Regions from separate parts of the Homo sapiens genome. Here region 1 is linked to region 2. Evidence: promoter capture Hi-C in human tissues and cell types (Jung and others, 2019). All regions are on one chromosome and are shown on one strand. The core of a region is centred on a gene start or on the middle of the fragment in contact, and the rest is flanking DNA. Distances in the headings are between cores, read along the strand shown. Region 1 overlaps CDK10 (cyclin dependent kinase 10). Region 2 holds the start of RPL13 (ribosomal protein L13).

Region 1 (3,614 bases), core at 40-2,539, 130 kb after region 2:
TTTTCTTCCCGTCACTGAGGTGAGAAGAGGTGAAAGCTTCCTTTCACCTGGAAGTCACACGGTCCCTTCAGCTCACATTCCAAGGCCAGATGCCACTGGGTAGCGTTTCATAACTTCCAGGAGGTAGTGATACAGGGATGCTGGGACAGCAGCCTCTGCCACAGATGTATTTTTGTATGTGGGATTGAAAGGGAGTATCTGAGTGGCCGCCTCTGATATTTCTTTCAAAGCATTGGCCCAGTATCGTCACCACCTTTTCTCATCAGAAAAGCCCAAGAGGCCGGGTACGGTGGCTCACGCTTGTAATCCCAGCACTTTGGGAGGCCAAGGCGGGCAGATCACTTGAGGTCAGGAGCTCAAGACCAGCCTGGCCAACATGGTGAAACCCAGTCTCTACTAAAAATAGAAAATTAGGCGGTTGTGGTGGCACCTGCCTGTAATCCCAGCTACTCAGGAGGCTGAGGCCGGAGAATCACTTGAACCCAGGAGGCGGAGGTTGCAGTGAACCATGTTCTTGCCACTGCACTCCAGCCTGGGCAACAGAGCGAGACTCAGTCTCAAAAAAAGAAAAAAAAAGCCCAAACGTGTGGTTGCCTTTCTGTTTGGTGAGCAAGACGTGAGTGGGCTCCCTGGTACAAATTCCATTTGAAATTTCCTCAGTTGTTCCATCAGCTGCCAAATTTCCACACTGGCAACACCCTTCTGTTTCAGCTGGGACGATGCCGGAGTGTGAAGGAGTTTGAGAAGCTGAACCGCATTGGAGAGGGTACCTACGGCATTGTGTGTGAGTGGCCAAGGCTAGGACATGTGGCCGCAGCTCGTGGCTGTGACAGTGTGGGACGAGACTGTCGAAGCAGCAGCCGCGTTGGGGCTGGAAGGGACTCAGACCCTGTGCTCTGAAACAGGGCAGAAACCTGTTCAGGAACTTCAATTCCTGATGTAGTTATCACAAACATTGTACCATTTCTGGGTAAACGTAAGCATCCGGTTGCTAATGCCCATAATCCAAACGTGTCACTGCAGAGTACACAGAACTGTTAGAGAAATAAAATACAGAACTTTCCAGAAGCAGCAGGAGCTGGACATGGTGCTCATGTCTATCACCTCAGCAACTCTGGAGGAGTCACCTGAGCCCAGGTGTTTTTTCTTTTTGTTTGTTTTTGAGATGGGTCTTGCTCTATTGCCCAGACTGGAGTGCAGTGGCATGATCATAGCTCACTGCGGCCTCGACCTCCTAGGCTCAAGTGATCCTCCCACCTCAGCCTCCTGAGTATCTGGGACCACAAGAGTACATAAGCACACCCAGCTAATTTTTAAATTTTTGGTAGAGATGGGATCTCCCTATGTTGCCCAGGCTGGTCTTGAACTTCTGGGCTCAAATGATCCTCCTGCCTCGGCCTCCCAAAGCACTGGGATTACAGGTGTGAGCCACTGCACCCGGCCAAGCCTAGGAGTTTGAGGCTGCAGTGAGCTGTGATCACGCCACTGCACCCCAGCCTTGGCAACAGAGTGAGACCCTGTCTCAAAAAAACCAAAAACACCACACACAACTAAAGGTTATAACAGATGTGAAATTGGCGTAGGTCATTCTGGAAGCTGCACACATTAGCAGGATGTTTTGTAGAGCCATCTTCACACAAAATAAGGTTTGCTTTTTTCTGCATAGAGTACCTTATTTGCTTTTAGGACATTACAAGAGAGCACAAAGCAGTGATCTGCATGCTAAGGAGGACATGGAGAGCCTGGAGCCACAGAACTGAGTGGCTGGAGGCCAGGGTCCAGCACAGAGCAAAGTTGGGCACCCCCTGCCCAGTTCAAATGAGGAAACCCTCCGGGGGAACGCGTCTCGGGCTAGGGGCGTTGCACAGAGTGGGGACTGAGTGTCACTGGGCATGAGGTTGTCAGAGGAAAGAACGGGGACCCCTGTGGCTCAGGGAGAGCCTCCCGTTCAGCGCTAGGGAGCCCACGAGGGGCATCGAGATGATGTCATCACCAATGTGTTTCCATTCCAGATCGGGCCCGGGACACCCAGACAGATGAGATTGTCGCACTGAAGAAGGTGCGGATGGACAAGGAGAAGGATGGTGAGCAGGAAATTGGGGTGTTGGGACCTCGCACTGGGAGGAGGCAGAAGGATGTGAGTTACCTGAAGTTTCCTCAGAGCGACTGCACGGTGCTTGTAGCGGGGGCCGGCCTCTGGGAGGGTTCTGGTGTGGCCCAGCACATCACCCCCAGGTCCACACGCAGCCTCAGCTGTCTGCCAGGAGGGCTCTGCAGTCTCCATCCCCTCCTCCCCCTCCTGTCTGGTGAGGCCACCTCACTGCAGGCTCAGCTCTGCTGTCCCCTCCACCCCCAGCACCTGCCTGTGCAGGCAGGGCCCTGCCATGCCCCACATAGATGTCCACGGTGTTTAGAGAGGTGCCGATTCGTATTTGGTCAAGGAAGAGTTAAAAGTGCTTATTGGGCCGGGCATGGTGGCTCATGCCTGTAATCCCAGCACTTTGGGAGGCCGAGGCAGGCGGATCACCTGAGGTCGGCAGTTCAAGACCAGCCTGACCAACATGGAGAAACCCCATCTCTACTAAAAATACAAAATTAGCCAGGCGTGGTGGCACATGCCTGTAATCCCAGCTACTAGGGAGGCTGAGGCAGGAGAATTGCTTGAACCCGGGAGGCAGAGGTTGCGGTGAGCCGAGATGGTGCCATTGCACTCCAGCCTGGGCAACGAGCGAAACTCCGTCTCAAAAAAAAAAAAATGCTTATTGGGGTCGCCCCAATTCTCCCTGAGGTGGGGACACTGCAGCACCTGCTATCAGGTGTTCGTGAAGCCCAAGAGTGGCTGGGGTTGGGGCTTCCCCGCCATCACTGGGGTGGGGCTCGCTGAGGCCACCTCCCTCCCCAGGCATCCCCATCAGCAGCTTGCGGGAGATCACGCTGCTGCTCCGCCTGCGTCATCCGAACATCGTGGAGCTGAAGGAGGTGGTTGTGGGGAACCACCTGGAGAGGTACGTGGTCTCCTGGTCTGCACATTGGGCCCTAGGGAGCATGTGTCTTGGGCTAGAGGTGTTGCACAGAGCGAGGACTGAGTGTCACTGGGCATGAGGTTGTCAGAGAAGAGATGACCCCACCTCACCGCCTGGCTCAGCCCATTGTCTGAGGGGGACACAGGTTGTCCTGCCCATGTCCCCTCCTGCAGCAGGGGAGGCTCCACTTCCACCCCTTAGGAGAAGGCCGGAGAGTGGCATGCATCTTCTGTTTCTTCCAGCATCTTCCTGGTGATGGGTTACTGTGAGCAGGACCTGGCCAGCCTCCTGGAGAATATGCCAACACCCTTCTCGGAGGCTCAGGTGCGTGGCAGAGGGGCCTGGGGTGGGGGAATGGGCTTCATGGGCCCTTGTGGTGCACATTTATAACGAAACAGGGCACTTGGGGACTTGAAGAGCTGCTGCTGCCTCTGCCTCCACCTCCCAGTGTTTCAGCGAGCTTCAGTGAGGTGGAATTCCTGTGGTGGGGGCATCTGCTGGGAGCGGGCAGCCCCAGGGCCGAGAGCCTTATGAGGGCACTGGTTTCCTGGGCTGTTGGGAGCAGGCAGCCCCGGGGCTGAGAGCCTTCTG
Region 2 (5,595 bases), core at 3,096-5,595:
TTCTGCCTTCACAGAAACCAGTGAAATGTGGCTGTGGCAGTGTTTTCTGTGGTCTGGCCAGGCCACCCCAGGGGCAGGTCCACCGGCACAGGACAGTCGGTGTCTCAAGTGTTTTCCAGGATCCCACCTAGAATGGCAGAAATTCACTTCCCCAACTTGAGAGGTCCCAGCTCACACAACTTCGCCTCAGATTCCTTCTCCCAGTGCTGCTCTCCTCAATCAGGAGGGTTCAGCATTTTACCCATCTCCTTCCCTGTAGACACACACGTCTTGTTTGGTGAAAGAAATTGCAGTTGCCAAAAATAAGCCAAGATTTTGAATAGAAGTAGAAAAATTAATGAGGCTGGCCGCCGGAAAATCATTTATGAGGTTGAGATGGGGGTGATTCTTCTTTCGGAGCTGCCTCCGTGCCTCCGCTTCCCTGGGAAAGTGGCCTGTCCTGGGTGTCCTGCACACAGACAGGCCCTCACGCCTCTTGCCACCTCCCCAGGACATAGAGATGCTCTGTCTGCCCTGGGGACTCACACACTGCTATGCCTGTTCTTTCTAGCTGGCAAACGCCCTTCTGGAAAAGGAAGTGATAAACTATGAGGACATTGAGGCTCTCATTGGCCCGCCGCCCCATGGGCCGAAGAAAATGATCGCACCGCAGAGGTGGATCGACGCCCAGAGGGAGAAACAGGACTTGGGCGAGGAGGAGACCGAAGAGACCCAGCAGCCTCCACTTGGAGGCGAAGAGCCGACTTGGCCCAAGTAGTTGGGAGGTGTTGGCTGCACGTGCGGGTGGTCCGGGAAGTGAGGGCTCACTCAGCCACCCTGAGTTGCTTTTCAGCTGAGGTTTGCACTTCCTCTCGCGGCCCTCAGTAGTCCCTGCACAGTGACTTCTGAGATCTGTTGATTGATGACCCTTTTCATGATTTTAAGTTTCTCTGCAGAAACTACTGACGGAGTCCTGTGTTTGTGAGTCGTTTCCCCTATGGGGAAGGTTATCAGTGCTTCCCGAGTGAGCATGGAACACTTCGAGTTCCCAGGGTTATAGACAGTCGTTCCCAGTGTGGCTGAGGCCACCCAGAGGCAGCAGAGCATTCAGACTCCAAACAGACCCCTGTTCATGCCGACGCTTGCACGACCGCCCCAGTTCCTGTGGCTCCCTCGGAATGCTAAGGGGATCGGACATGAAAGGACCCTGTGAGCCGATTGTCCTATCTCCAGCGGCCCTGTCATCCAGCTCACTCATCAATGGGGCCAGTCAGGCCCAGGCACTGGGCTCCGGAGGACTCACCACTGCCCCCTGCTGCCATGTGGACTGGTGCAAGTTGAGGACTTCTTGCTGGTCTAGTCACGCATGCAGTGTTGGGGATGCCTTGGTTTTTACTGCTCTGAGAATTGTTGAGATACTTTACTAATAAACTGTGTAGTTGGAAAATCTACATTTGCATTGTCTGGCCAGCTCTAATGCAGAGGAGCTGGTGGGCTTGCCCTGGATCACAGGGTCTTGTGGTTTCAGTTTATAATTTGAGTAATGCAGGGACTAAGTGAAAAACTCCTTCTGTAGGAATCTGGGGCCTGGACCCCGTAGGGATAGAAGACGACCCAGGACACCCTGGCCCTGAGTTCCGGGGCATGCGGCTCCCACTCCGGCCCCCTTGCTTCTGCCCTCCCTGTGGTGCAGTGACGTGAGTGGATTGTCCTCTTGTTGCTGCAACACTGAAACGCTGGCGGAGCAGTAAGGAGGCAGCCACAGGTGCAGTCACACACCCGAGGGTGGCATCTCTGAGAGATGCCTTGACCTTTGCCCCAGTTCTCCAAATCCAAAGACCAGCACATCGATGGGAGGGTTTTAGCTGGTGTAGCCAAGGGTAGTGTCCTCGGTAATTGTTTTTTTTTTGCTGTTGTGTTGGTTTTTGGCAGAGTCTTGCTCTGTCGCCCAGGCTAGAGTGCAGTGGCGCCATCTCGGCTCACTGCAGCCTCGATCTTCTGGGCTCAAGCAATCCTCCTGACTCAGCCTCCCAAGTAGCTGGGACCGCAGGCACGCACCATTATGCCCGACTAATTTTTGTACTTTTTGTAGAGACAGGGCTAGACTCGAATTTCTGAGTTCAAGTGATCCTCCTGCCTTGGCCTCCCAATGTGTTGGGATTACAGGTGTGAGCCACTGTGCCAAGCCTTTTGTGAAATTAATTTATTATTTTTTAATTATTATTTGTTTTTGGAGATGGAATCTTGCTCTGTAGTCCAGGCTGGAGTGCAGTGGCACGATCTTGGGTCAGTGCAACCTCCGCCTCCCGGGTTCACGCCATTCTCCTGCCTCAGCCTCCCAAGTAGGTGGGACCACAGGCGCCTGCCACCACGCCCGGCTAATTTTTTGTATTTTTAGTAGAGTCGGGGTTTCACCATGTTAGCCAGGATGGTCTCGATCTCCTGACCTCGTGATCTGCCTGCCTTGGGCTCCCAAAATGCTGGGATTACAGGTGTGAGCCAGCACGCCCAGCTCTTAAATTTTTCATTTTTGAGACGGAGGCTTAACTCTGTCACCCAGGCTGGAGTGCAGTGGTGCAGTCTCGACTCACTGTAACCTCTGCCTCCTGGGTTCAAGTGATTCCCCTGTCCTACTCTCTGGAGTAGCTAGGATTACAGGTGTACACAACCACACATGGCTAATTTTTGTATTTTTAGTAGAGGCGGGATTTTGCCATGTTGGCTAGGCCGGTCTCCAACTCCTGACCTCAGGTGATCCACCCGCCTCGGCCTCCCAAAGTGCTGGGATTTACAGGCATGAGCCACCGTGCCTGGCCTGTGAAATACTTTTTTTTCTTTTTGAGACTGAGTCTTGCTCTGTTGCCCAGGCTAGAGTGCAGTAATGTGATCTTGGCTCACTGCAACCTCTGCCTCCCCAGTTCAAGCAATTCTGGTGACTCAGCCTCCTAAGTAGCTAGGATTACAGGCATGCGCCACCACGCCCAGCTTTTTTGTATTTTTAGTAGAGACAGGGTTTCACCATCTTAGCCAGGGTGATCTCAAACTCTTGACCTCGGCTGATCCGCCCACCTCAGCCTCCCAAAGTGCTGGAACTGTGAAATTCTTAAAATGTGGATTACGTTGGCCAGGCACGGTGGCTCACGCCTGTAATCCCAGCACTTTGGGAGGCCCAGGCGGGCGGATCGCGAGGTCAGGAGATCGAGACCATCCTGGCTAACACAGTGAAACCCCGTCTGTACTAAAAATACAAAAAATCAGCTGGGCGTGATGGTGGGCGCCTGTAGTCCCAGCTACTTGGGAGGCAGAGGCAGGAGAATGGCGTGAACCCGGGAGGCAGAACTTGCAGTGAACAGAGATCGCACCACTGAACTCCAGCCTGGGCAACAGAGGGAGACTCCGTCTCAAAAAAAAAAAATAATAATAAGTTTTACCAGGAGGAAGCGTGGTGATTGGGTGAGGGTAGGGAAGAAAGAGGGTTATTGGGATTTAAAGGTTTCCAGGTAGCAGTAAGATGGATGGTGCCTTCACAGACTTATACTAGAGAAGAGATGGCTTTTTGTTGATGCTTTTCTTTGTGAAGGAAGGCAGTAGGCACAGCAGGTCAGAGTGTGACATTTTCAGTCGGGTACCCCTGACCTTAGAGAAGTCACCTAATCCTGGGCCAAGGGAAAGCGACAGAGGCCAACAGTAACTCCGTCTACTAAAATACCAAAAATTAGCAGGGTGTGGCGGCGGGCGCCTGTAATCCCAGCTACTCGGGAGGCTGAGGCAGAATTGCTTGAACCTGGGACGCGGAGGCTGCAGTGAGCCGAGATCGCGCCATTGCACTCCAGCCTGGGCGACGGAGCGAGACTCCGTCTCCAAAAAAAAAAAACAAAAAAAAAAACCACAAATGTTCTAAATGGATGGGAGGAGAATAAACGCTGGAACGACAAGGACGAAGGCCTTAGGTTGCGCAAACTCGGATGTCACTGAAGTTTTTCTGCCTTTGCGCTGCAAACGTGTCTCACAAATGTGAACAAACAGAATTCCTCGGGCGTCGCCCGTTCGCCGTCGGCCCAGATACCGGACTCGCGCGCGTTAGCCCGCAAGACAGGACTCGGCCGCGGCCCGCGCAGCGGCTGAAGCGCCGGGGCAGTAACGGCGGACGTCAAGCAAGTCCGGCCGTCGGTTACTCAGGGCCCAGGAATCACGGCCGCCCCGCCGCATTCTCAGCGGCAACATGTCTGCGACGGCGGCCCTAGGGCTGCCGGGAGAGCCGCGGCGACGTCAGTTCCTCCTTTCGGGGCTCTGATTGGTCAGAGCGCCCGGCGCTTCTGGTTGGCCGGCCCTGCTATCATCCCAGAGTGCATTGCGGGGCCGCTTCCTTTCCGCTCGGCTGTTTTCCTGCGCAGGAGGTGAGGGAGACTGGGTCCTGGCCTTTGGGCATCATCCAGCGCCATCGGCCTGGCGCTTCAGCCAACGCGGGAGTGGATGGGCCCCTTCTTCTTCGCAGACAGCGTTCGGCCGCTGCCCGGGCTCTAGGCGCGGCCGGACGGCCCAGTCTGGAGGGTTCGGGGCGGAGGCCCGGGGGGGTGCGCGCGCCCGGGGTCCGGCCTCTCACTCGCTCCCCTCTCGTCCGCAGCCGCAGGGCCGTAGGCAGCCATGGCGCCCAGCCGGAATGGCATGGTCTTGAAGCCCCACTTCCACAAGGACTGGCAGCGGCGCGTGGCCACGTGGTTCAACCAGCCGGCCCGTAAGATCCGCAGGTGAGCCCTGCGCTCGGGGCTGCCCCTGGGGCTCGTGCCCGCGGCTGCGCCTTGGCTTGCGGGTGGCCGATGCCAGGGCGGGGGGCGCTGTCTGCAACCGTCGCGGAGCGCTGGCCTGGCGGCCTTAGGCAAGGGTGACCGCCGCTGCGCTTCTCTCCACCAGACGTAAGGCCCGGCAAGCCAAGGCGCGCCGCATCGCCCCGCGCCCCGCGTCGGGTCCCATCCGGCCCATCGTGCGCTGCCCCACGGTTCGGTACCACACGAAGGTGCGCGCCGGCCGCGGCTTCAGCCTGGAGGAGCTCAGGGTGAGTACTGGCAGCGCTGCGGTGTCAGGAAGGCCCCGAAGTCCCCTCTGTTGGCCTCAGTCGCGTGATGACATTCTCCGGAATCGCTGTACGGCCTTGATGAAAGCACATTTGAACCCTTTTCCATCTGATTGCTGAGGCTTTTCATCCAGGCCTCGGGGCTGGAGAAAGCCCGGGCCTGTCTCCATCTCTCTCTGGTTCTGGGGCAGGTGGCCGGCATTCACAAGAAGGTGGCCCGGACCATCGGCATTTCTGTGGATCCGAGGAGGCGGAACAAGTCCACGGAGTCCCTGCAGGCCAACGTGCAGCGGCTGAAGGAGTACCGCTCCAAACTCATCCTCTTCCCCAGGAAGCCCTCGGCCCCCAAGAAGGGAGACAGTTCTGTGAGTACACGGCTCTCTGGCCGTCCTGGTGCGCGGGGACAGTGAGGCTTGGCTCCTTTATCAGTGACACCGGTCCCTGGGTCTTGCTGGGGTGAGAAGAACCAAAACATTGTGGGTGATGAGCTAAGCGGGACTGCTAAGGTTCACCTGTGCGTTTCCGCAGAGATAACCTTAATGGAC

What was found. Contacts are between HindIII fragments. The study calls those that stand out against the background at their distance.
Region 1: a contact is called between a fragment that was not itself captured here and the fragment with the promoter of RPL13 in region 2, in 12 of the 25 tissues and cell types used here (H1 embryonic stem cells, IMR-90 fibroblasts, aorta and 9 more).

The regions. Positions count from the first base shown.
Region 1 is chr16:89,688,541-89,692,154 of GRCh38, forward strand. CDK10 (cyclin dependent kinase 10) reads left to right here. Exons shown (of 13, transcript NM_052988.5): 2 at 712-784; 3 at 2,013-2,084; 4 at 2,903-3,005; 5 at 3,266-3,347. Among named protein-coding and RNA genes, the nearest start is that of LINC02166, 3.4 kb to the left of the region's middle. The HindIII fragment of the contact is 5,257 bases long and covers 1-3,614 here.
Region 2 is chr16:89,556,337-89,561,931 of GRCh38, forward strand. RPL13 (ribosomal protein L13) reads left to right here and starts at 4,346. Exons shown (of 6, transcript NM_000977.4): 1 at 4,346-4,376; 2 at 4,604-4,727; 3 at 4,891-5,032; 4 at 5,242-5,415. The coding sequence starts at 4,624. It overlaps SNORD68 (small nucleolar RNA, C/D box 68), which reads left to right and starts at 5,094; the gene lies at 5,094-5,165. SPG7 (SPG7 matrix AAA peptidase subunit, paraplegin) reads left to right here. Exons shown (of 17, transcript NM_003119.4): 17 at 551-1,430. The coding sequence ends at 757. RefSeq lists silencers at 2,788-3,007, 4,549-4,818, 4,879-4,928 and an enhancer at 4,329-4,438. The HindIII fragment of the contact is 11,945 bases long and covers 1-5,595 here.